Regions from separate parts of the Homo sapiens genome. Here region 2 is linked to region 1. The links are contacts of gene promoters, found by promoter capture Hi-C in blood cells and fetal thymus (Javierre and others, 2016). All regions are on one chromosome and are shown on one strand. Each heading gives the region's core, a stretch centred on a gene start or on the middle of the fragment in contact. The rest is flanking DNA. Distances are from core to core; before and after follow the strand shown. Region 1 holds the start of KRR1 (KRR1 small subunit processome component). Region 2 has its middle 33 kb from the start of PHLDA1-AS1.

Region 1 (5,555 bases), core at 1,410-3,909:
TTTCCTAAGCATTTTGAGTGCCTTATTTCCATACGCCTTTCATCGTAACTATAAAAGGTAGAATCTGTATTATTATTCTCATTTTATAGAAGATGGTCTAAAAAGGTTAAGTGACTTGCCTAAGGGAACACAAAGCTCACTCAGCCTGGGACTCCTTTCACTACAAGAAAATGCCTCCTAAGGGCCGTAAATTATCTTCTGAATCATTTATTTAAAAAACTCTTGATCTTGAATTTGAAGAACTCCTTAATTTCAATAGCTATACTCTAATTCAGTTATACTCAAAGGTATGATCCATAGACTTGCAGTATCAGCACAAACTGTAAGTCTGTCAGAAATGCAATTATTGGGCCCCACTACAGACCTACTGAATGAGAATCTCTTCGACGAGGGACAAGAATCTGTGTTTTACCATGCTCAACAGGAGACTCTTAAGCACGGTAAAGTTTGAAAAACACGTCATTACCCTATGTTAGCAGCCTCAGACAGGTAAACTTTCTGCTTATACTCACATCCACGTTGCTATTTCTGGTTCAAATCACAGACAATTGGCTAGTCTTCATATAAAGGATTCTCCAATGTCCTTTAAAGAACACGAATTCCACAAAAGTGATTACTTATATACTATACACATTTCTTTTTTTTTTTTTTTTTTTAAAGACAGGGCCTCGCTCTGTCACCCAGGCTGGAGTGCAATGGCTCCATCCCAGCTCACTGCAGCCTGGACCTCCTGGACTCAAGCGATCTATTCTCTTGCCTCAGCCTCACAAGTAGCTGGTACTACAGGCATGTGCCATCATGTCCGGCTAATTTTTTTTTTTTTTTTGTAGCGAAAGGGTTTTGCCATGTTGACCAGACTGGTCTCCTGGGCTCAAGCAATCCCCCCTCCTCAGCTTGCCAAAGTGCTGGGATTACAGGTGTGAGTCACTGCAACTAGTTACTTACAATGTTTACCTGACGAAGTCCCTATCCAATTTAAACACTTCAAAGGCTATGGATAATTTTTTTTAAAATCCCCACTACAACCTCAGGAAAAAAACTGACAAAAGAAATACTCAGGAGTTTCACAATTAAGGAAGCCTCAAAACATGTGAAAAGATATGCAACCTCATAGGTGATCAGAAAATGCAAACTAAAACTGCAACCAAATACCATTTCATAACTACCAAAATGACAGAAATTCAAAATTCAGATAACATGTATTCATACTAATGTAAGGCAATGACAACTTTCGTCCACTCCTAGTGGGAACAAAACTGACACTAGCACTTTGGAAAAAAGTTAGCATTACTTACACACACCCTACACTTCAGTGATTCCAATCCTATGTTCACAACCTAGAGAAACCCTTGAACATGTTAACCAGAAGACATGTACAAAGATGTTTTAGCAGTATTGTTTATAATTGCAAGCAATTGGGAACAATCCAAATGTCCACCGATAGTAAAATGAAAAAATAAATTGGGGTATATTCATACAAGGAAACACCACATAACAGTGAAAAGACTAAAACTACACCCGCAAGTATCACCCTGTTTGAAAAACAAAAAGCTAAATCTAAGAAGACACAGAAAAATGCATACGGTCCACTTTCATGTATATAAAATTAAAAAACAGGCTAAATTAAGCCACTTCATGACTACAAGAAGAGGAACAGAATGCAACACAATTCAGGGTGGTTACGTCTGATACAGGAAAAGAGAATATGATCTGAGAGGTGCACGTAAGGGTTTGAGGGGTATGGTAATGCTCTATTTTACTTAGTCTGAATGCTAGTTTCCCGCATGGTTTTATTAAACTCTATATAAGTTGTATCCCCTGCTATGTACGTTACATAATCATTTAATGAGCAACAACAAAGAAACTTTGAATACTTTCCCAATGCATCTAAATTGAGAGTTCAATGTTTTTAACACTTCCTATAAGCCTGGTTGAACAGATCCCCAGGCTATTTATGACTTCTCTATCATTCACACTGAAGAAAACGGGTAAAACCAGACTACAACGCAGGAGTTAACAATTAAAAGGTAACACAACCTAAACAGTAAGGGCTGTGTCGTCTAATATTTTAGCATCTGACAAACAGGAATTGATAATCTTTCAAAATGTCTTTACTGACAAACTAGAGCTAAGGACATGTCGGATAGCTCCTTTCCCCATACCTCACCCCATTATCAGGGTCCACTCTTGTATATCATGACTACCTATTCCCACCTCACCCTATTCCTCATTCCGTCAGTGACTTTCAGCCACCCGCAGGCTTACAAGGTTCTGCGTCGCCCTAGGCATTTTCTTAATACTCATCCTTTTACAAAAGACGTAATCCGCAACAGCTTCGCTTTGGGGACCCTTTAGCAAAAGCAATGAATTAGGAACACCTGGGTGGCACCATATCGGCCAGCCGTTCCTGTGGGCCCAGCCAAAATCTTATCAGCGATTATTCAGGTACTCAACTACACAGTACAGGCTCCAGGTGGTTTTATAAGTCCACGAGGAACGAAAGAAAAAAACATCGCAACTCAACGTACACAAACCCCAGGCTTCGGTTCCCACATAACATCACCTTGGTTCTCCGGCTTCGGCTTCTGGTTACGAAATTCACTTTTTCCAGCGCCTTTTTCTGGCCGCTCCAGCGAGGGAGACGCCATTTGCAAGCTGCTTCCGGTGGCTCCGGAAATGAAACTGTTCTTAAACCCTACCGGCTAAAACGCCTACACTCAAAATGAGTTCCGCGGAACTCAGACGAGGAGATCTGCGCAGTCTCCGTGCGTACGTGCGTTAAGCCCGCGCTTTTACACAAACCACAGCTTCTCCTACGTGGCCAATGAAGAGCCGGAGACTTTCTCCCAGTATGCCCTGAAACCATGGAGTTTGCGTACTGGGACTTGTAGTTTAGCAGGCGGTATAGGCAAATTGGATACTGTTTTATCCGTAGTTTCCTCGTGGCCTCACGGCCTAACCTGGACCATCGGACAGCGGAGTGCTACCAACCTGTCATTGATGTCATTCATTCTTTCGATAAATATTTATATGTTGGCCAAATATGCGCTAGATGTTGGGAGGAAGTACAAATATGAGAATACAATGTATATTGGGCCTCCACTGCAACAAGTGACAGGAATAGCTACTATTTATTGTGAGACTACTTTGTTTCAGTACTTTATTTACATTATTTCTAATTTTAAAAACAGTGACAAAATTAAACTTTTCAAAGTTGTTTCTGATGGTAATCTTCCCGAGTGTTGGTATTTCTCTAAGTCAGAGGGATGGTAATTCAACATCCTGACGTTTCTGAAGTATTTCAACTAGCCTAAGATTTCTCAAAATCTCTAAACTCCTTTTCTACCCCCAACATTACATAGGGCTAAGATGTGTAGAGAGGTTCATCACTAACTACAAATAACTACACTTTTGGAAGTATAAGAGTTCTTCGACATGCCAAATATAAGATTTTTTTAAATTTTGATTTTATTGCTTGCATTTCTAAAATTTTCTGCAGCAAATAGGGAAAGTCTTTGATAGGTTAAATTCCTTGCATTAGTGAAATACACGTTTGTCTGATAAATCCACTCTCGTGTATCTTATACAATAATTTAGGTTTTCATATATGAGATCCAGGTATGAAACAGATTGTTACATATGGACAGAAGAACCCACGACAGAGGGGTTTTTTGTTTTTATCCTGTGAGTTTTATAAATGACAGGGATTTTATCTCTGTTCTTTTAATTTCCTCAAAAAATGATAAATTCCTAAAATAGAACAGATAGCAGCAGGTGAAAGTTATAAAGTGAGGAGTACACCTCATGAAGCAGGTTTTTATCATTCTTATTTTAAGTAACTCAATCACTAATAAGTGGAAGGCCCGTCTTCAAGTTCAGGCAGTTTGACCTAGCAGCTTCAGGGGGCTACTATTCATTAGGAGCTTCAAATGTGTTAGAGGGCTGATAGGGATTAAGGGGAGGGAATAGTCTAGAAATAATATTTGTGTTAAAGCCCTTTATTTTATAGCAAAATTTTCTACATAGGCTTTTCTTCCCATTTACGTGTATATTTTTAATCTTAGTATTGCTATTATTTGAGGAATATTGAGAATATGATGGAGATGGGAAAACGAAAACCCACCCATCCTTTTCTTGGCACTATTGAGTCTGTTTGTAAAACCCAACCTTTTAATTACCATACTATGCAGAGCCCACAGTTCACCTGTCCCTTTTTGAAATTTTTACATCTTTTTCCAAATCATTACTGAAAGGGGTGTAAAAACATGGATAATAATTGAGTTCTAAGATTCTCTAACGTCCTCAAGACCTCCTATTATAGATGACACCACACTAAAACTGTCTGCTTTCCAAAGGAAAAGATTCATCAGGCTCCTACAATAAGTTATTTCAGTATTAAGTGATTCTTTCCCTTCCCTAACTCAAAAGCCCTCATGTTGTCCACCAACTGAATATACAATATAAAAACAATATATGATTGGAAGTTAAGTGAATTTTTTTAAGTCTGTTACTTGCCTTCCAGAACCCATAATCTAACACAAGTTATATCACAGGAATAGGGAGTTATCTTACATATAGGATATAAAAGCTTTTACTAAAAAATGAATCCTGCAACAAAAATCACAAATTAATTTAAAAATATTAATTATAATGACTATTAATCATATACTGAAGGGTATATATAATTATACAGTACTTTTTCCTCTGTGATAATATGAGATAAAATATAGCAAGATACTAATTTGATGCTAGTAGTTATAAGAAGTAATGTATAAAAATTAAATGAATAGAAAATTGCATGAGACTGAGAGGCTGAAGCTTTTCCTTAGTACACATACATTTTTTTTTCAGTTTTAAAACAGACTCTGATGCTTAAATATTGTTACTCATTAACTGAATTTTCATATTTTGGCTTGACAAGCAGGAATAGCACATATATATATACTTACTAAAAATTAAAATTGACAGTCAAATTGAATGAGAACAACGTTTCAACAATTTGCTTAGACTATGTTTTAAGCAATTTTGAAGAAAAATTTTAAAATAAACGTGGTATGGAATAAACAAATTCCGAAATTAATTCGACTAGTTCTTCTAAGAATTAAACATTGTAACCAATATTACATATGAGTAGTTTAAACTTTTAAAACCTCTTAACAATAGTTTCCACATGTGGGAACTATTTGCTCTAGATTCCTTACTTTGGAAAAGAGCAGATCTAATTTCAACATCTTCCAAAAATTCATTAGAATTGAAAGAACAATTTGATTTTAAATAAATATTGAATAATGACTAAAAATTATAAATATTTATTGAATACATATTGAAAATAAATATTGAAAAATCTCCTAAAATCACCTTAGAAGACTATAAACTCAAAAGTGATTATCAAAATGACAGTGTCCAAATTTTCATCTCAATTTCAATGATTCACTGATTATAAAGTATTCAAAATAATAATTTAAAATTTAAAATGATGAGAAATAGGGTAAAAAAATAAAGGATATAAAAGAGGGCAAAATATTCGCAAAACATTTAATGGGTTGATTACAATA
Region 2 (5,555 bases), core at 2,282-4,781, 490 kb after region 1:
CACCTCCTGGGCTCAAGCAATCCTCCCATATCAGCCTCCTGAGTAGCTGGGACCACAGGAGAGCACCACTGATCCAGGCTAATTTTTAAATTTTTAGTAGAGACAAGGTATTGCTATGTTTCCCACACTGTCCTAATCCTAACATAACTATATAATTTACTATCTAAACTAGGTCTCTATTATGTAGGACAAATGTTAAACCAACTGAGTCAAGAGAAAAACAGGCATTAGCCACATTGTCCAAAGCAAAGTAAAATCTACCTACATATTAGGTTTTTCCTCCTTAATCCAGCTATTTCTGATAGCAACACCATAAATTAAGTGGCTAATTATATTTGAAGTACTAAATAGCTAATGTAGTTCTTTAAAGCAAGGTCAATTGAACTATAATTTACACAATAAAAATTAACTTTATTTAAGTATACAGTTTATTAATTTGAACCATCATAAAGAGTTGTGTAACCACAACAATCAAGATATAGGATATCTCACCATAAAAGTGCCCTACATAGTTCACCCTCTCCCCACCCCATCTGTCCCTGTAGTTTTGCGTTCCCCAAATGTTATATCAAAGTAATCAAATCATGTAGCTTTTGAGTTTGGTTTCTGTCAGTTAGCACAATGTATCTGAGATGTATCCATGTGGTTGTAGTATCAGTAGTCCACTCCTTTCTATTGAGAAGTAGTCTGGATATACTACAAGTTGTTCATCTATTTCATTCACCAGTGGATAGACATTGGGCTGTCTTCCAATTTTCAGGGATTATGAATAAAGCTGATGTAAACATTCACATACAGGTTTCAGTGTGGGTATATGTCATTATTTCTCTTGTGTAAATATCTAGAAGTGGGAATTATGGGTTATATGGTAAGTGTACATTTAACATATAAGAAACTGCCAACTATTTTTTCAAAGTGCCCTTCCTTTTTTGCATTCCACCACCAATGTATGAGAATATCAGTAACTCCACATCCTTGCCAGCACTCCATGTTCTCAGTTTTTTTAAGCCATTCTAATAGGTATCACATCGTGGTTTTAACTTTCCTTTTTTTTTTTTTTTTTTTTTTTTGAGACATAGTCTCTCTCTGTCACCCAGGTTGGAGTGCAGTGGTGCAATCTCAGCTCACTGCAACTTCCACCTCCCAGGTTTAAGCAATTCTCCTGCCTCCGCCTCCCAAGTAGCTGGGATTACAGGCACATGCCACTGTGCCCGGCTAATTTTTTGTATTTTTAGTGGAGACAGCGTTTCACCATGCTGGCCAGGCTGGTCTCGAACTCCTGACCTCATGATCTGCCCACCTCCACCTCCCAAAGTGCTGGGATTACAGGAGTGAGCCACCATGCCCGGCCTAACTTTCTTTTTTTTAATGACTAATGATGTTGAATATCTTTTCACGTGTTTATTGGTCATCTGTGTATCTTTATTGATGAAATGTCCATTTAAATCTTTAGCTCATGTTTGGATGTTATTATTGCTTGTTCTATTTTTATTAAGTGGTGAGAGTCTGTCATATATTCTGGATAGCTAACATATTTTTTGAAATTAAAAACTGTATGATTGCTATCTGTTTCACAATGGAAATATACTTAACACTAATGAACTGTACACTTAAAAATGGTTAAGATGGTAAATTTTATGTTATGTGTTTTTTACCCCAATTTTTTTTTAAAGTGTATGATTGCTGAATTTCACTCTAGAAGTCAGATTGCAATGTGCGCTTTTCCAGGAAATCATCCAAGAAGCCAACTGCTAATATTGCCTCGTACCCCAGAATCCAATGTCTACAACTCTAGAAAGGCCAGAGAACTGGTCCCAGGCCCAGCCAAGATGAGTTATTCTTGGAGATCCAAGGATGATGAAGCACATGGGAAATTCCTGGTGAAAGGCATGGTGGGATATCCAAGATTATTACTGAAAGGCACTATGGGATATCCAAGATTGTTAGTGCAAGCTTGAGTGATATCCAAGACTCTTGGTGCCAGATACTGGGAGATATCCAAACATCTGTGAAATCCAGTCCTCTGCTTTCAAGAAGTTGCCTTCTAGCTGGGATAATAAGACACAGAAAATTAACAATACCAAGTTGCACAAAATTAGTGCTAAATGAGTACTGCAGACATAGGAGTTCCAGATGTCCAGAGTAGCAAAAAGGGCCCCAAGAGACTTTACAGAAACTCCAAAAGTGGACATGTTTGGGCAGCAGTAAATAGAAAAAAGTTTGCTGGAACTCCGGGGACTCTTACTAAGTGTCAGATAACCATATCTGAGAAAAGTATTTCCTACCACATAGGGTTATCATAATGACTAAATACATATAAAGTTCCTGTGGCAAGGACATAATAAATGCCCTCAGGGTTCTAGTTAGTATTTTATAATTTCTCCTGTAATGTACATATTATTATCTCAATTTAAACTTTTTATTTTGAACTAATTTTAGACTTACATAAAAGTCACAAAAATAGTATAGAGCATGTTCTTATATCCCTCACCCTGCTTCCTTTAATGTTAACATCTTACATAACCATGGTATAATGATCAAAGAGTAAATTAACATTGGTGCCAACATTATTAACTCAAAAGCAGACTCTATTAAAATTTCACCAGTTTTTCTGCTAATGTCCTTTTTCTGGTCCAAGATCCATCCAGAATCCTATATTGCATTTGTTGTTGCCTTGATTTCCTCCTGTGCCTGTTGCTCATTCTTTCCTGTTTTTCCTGACCTTGACACTTTTGAAGAGTGCTGGTCAGTTATTTTGTAGAATGTCCTTCCGTTTAGGTTTGTGTGATGTTTTCTCATGATTAGAATGAGCTTATACAATTTGGGCAAGCATATTAGAGAAACGATGCTATGTTCTTCTCGGTGCATCATAGTAAGTTATTGTGTCCATTTTCAAGATGAAGATTCTGAGGCTCAGAAAAGGATCCACAGCTAATGAGTAGCAACACCTAGATATGGAAACAAAATTTGACTGTCACCGGCTGCCTCTGTACAGGAAATGGATGAAAAAACATTTGGGGGCTGGACACAGTGGCTCACGCCTGTAATTCCAGAATTTTGGGAGGCCAAGGCGGGCAGATCACTGGAGGTCAGGAGTTCGAGGCCAGCATGGCCAACATGGTGAAACCTCGTCTCTACTAAAAATAAAAAAATTAGCCAGACGTGGTGGTGCATGCCTGTAATCCCAGCTACTTGGGAGCCTGAGACAAAAGAATCGCTTGAACCCAGGAGGCAGAGGTTGCAGTAAGCCAAGATCGTGCATCACTGTACTCCAGCCTGGGTGACAGAGAAAGATTCCTTCTAAAAAAATAAAAAATAAAAAAAGTTTGGAATGAGACTTTGTAAAAGTCAGAGGGACTTTGTAAAAGTGGGAGGTGTTGGAATGCAAAACTGATGAGTTAGAGCTGTATTCAGAGATTGGGTAATTATTAAAAGAGCTTGAGCAAGGTATTAAGACATGAAAAGCAGTATTTGGAGGCAATTAACCTGAACACAGGACAGGCATATCTTTGAGATATTGCAGACCACCACAAAGAAGTAATTATCATAATAAAGCAAGTCACACAAAGTTTTTGATTTCCTAGTGCATGTAAAAGTTATGTTTACACTATACTGTAGTCTTTAAGTGCACAATAACATAATATTTGAAACAATAATGTGCATACCTGAATTTTAAAATGCTTTATTGCTAAAAAATGTTAACAATTATCTGAGCCTTCAGTGAGTCATAATCTTTTTGCTGGTAGAGGGTCTTGCCTCGATGTTGATGGCTGCTGACTAATCAGGATGGTGATTACAGAAAGTTGGGGCAGCTGTGGCAATTTCTTAAAATTAGACAACAATGAAATTTGCCATAAGGATTTCTCTGTAGCATGCAATATGTTTTGATAGCATTTTATCCACAGTAGAACTTCTTTCATAATTGCAGTCGATCCTCTCAAACCCTGCCACTGCTTTATCATCTAAATCCTTTGTTCTTTTTTTTTTTTTTTTTGAGACAGAATCTCCGTTGCCCAGGCTGGAGTGCAGTGGCAAGATCTCGGCTCACTGCAACCTCCGCCTGCCAGGTTCAAGTGATTATCCTGCCTCAGCCTCTCAAATAGCTGGGATTACAGGCATGTGCCACCATACCTGGCTAATTTTTGTATTTTTAGTAGAGATGGGGTTTCACCATGTTGGCCTGGCTGTTCTCCAACTCTTGACCTGTTAACCTCAAGTGATCTGCCTGCACTGGCCTCCCAAAATGCTGGAATTACAGGCATGAGCCACCATGCCCAGCCTAAATCCTGTGTCCTAATTTCAACAATGTTCACAGCATCTTCACCAAGAGTAGATTCCATTTTAAGAAGTCACTTTCATTGCTCATCCATAAGAAGCAACTCCTCATCCATTCAAGTTTCAGCATGAGATTGTAGCAATTCAGTCACATCTTCAGGCTAATTCTAATTCTAGTTCTCTAACTATTTTCACCACATTTCAGTTACTCCCTCCACTGAAGTGTTGAGGCCCTCAAAGTCATCCATGAGGGTTGGAATCAACTTCTTCGAAACTCCTGACAATGTTCATATTCTGAGCTCCTCCCACGAGTCACAAATGTTCTTAATAGCATCTAGAATGGTGAATCCTTTCCAGAAGGTTTTTATTTTGCTTTGCCCAGATCCATCAGAGGAATCAGTACCTATGGCAACTATAGCCTTATGAAATGTATTTTTTAAATAGTAAAACTTGAAATTTGAAATTCCTCCTTGATCCACGGGCTGAGGAATGCATGTAGTGTTAGCAGGCACAAAAACATTAATCTCTTGGTACAACTCCATCAGAGCTCCTGGGTGATCAGATGCATTTTGTCAAAGAACAGTAATATTTTGAAAGGAATATATATATATTTTAGCAGTAGGCCTCAACAGTGGGCTTAAAATGCTCAGTAAACCATGCTGTCAACAGATATGCTGTCATCTAGGCTTTGTTGTTCCATGTAGAGAGCACAGGCAGAGTAGATTTAGAATAATTCTTAAGGACCCTAGGACTTTTGGAATGGTCAATGAGCATTAGCTTCAACTTAAACTCACCAGCTATACTAGCCCCTAACAAGACAGTCAGCCTGTCCTTTGAAGCTTTGAAGCCAGGCATTGACTTCTCCTTTCAAGCTATGGAAGTCCTAGATGGCATCTTTTTCCAATATAAGGCTGTTTTGTCTACATTAAAAACCTGTTGTTTAGTGTAGCTGTCTTCACAAATTATCTTAGCTAGAACTTCAGGATAACTTGCTGTAGCTTCTAAATCAGTACTTGCTGTCTCATCTTGTACTTTGATGTTATAAAGATGGCCTCTTTCCTTAAACCTCATGAACCAATCTCTGCTGGCTTCACACTTTTCTTCTGCATCTTCCTCACCTCTCTCAGCCTTCATGGAAAGGAAGAGAGTTAGGGCTTTGCTCTGGATTAGGCTTTGGTTTAAGGGACTATTGTGGCTGGTTTGTTCTTTCTCCATACCAACTAGAAGGCTGTTTCCCTTTCTTATCATTTGTGCATTCTCTGGAATAGCACTTTTAATTT

The links. Contacts are between HindIII fragments. The CHiCAGO score rates a contact against its expected background, and 5 or more counts as called.
Region 2: a fragment that was not itself captured here is called in contact with the fragment with the promoter of KRR1 in region 1 in 1 of 17 cell types (megakaryocytes); the score reaches 6.0 in megakaryocytes.

Annotation. Positions count from the first base shown.
Region 1 is chr12:75,508,950-75,514,504 of GRCh38, forward strand. KRR1 (KRR1 small subunit processome component) reads right to left here and starts at 2,660. Exons shown (of 10, transcript NM_007043.7): 1 at 2,564-2,660. The coding sequence starts at 2,648. RefSeq lists enhancers at 1,873-2,417, 2,418-2,961, 2,468-2,627. The HindIII fragment of the contact is 5,214 bases long and covers 1-4,586 here.
Region 2 is chr12:75,995,097-76,000,651 of GRCh38, forward strand. No RefSeq gene overlaps it. Among named protein-coding and RNA genes, the nearest start is that of PHLDA1-AS1, 33 kb to the right of the region's middle. The HindIII fragment of the contact is 3,161 bases long and covers 1,952-5,112 here.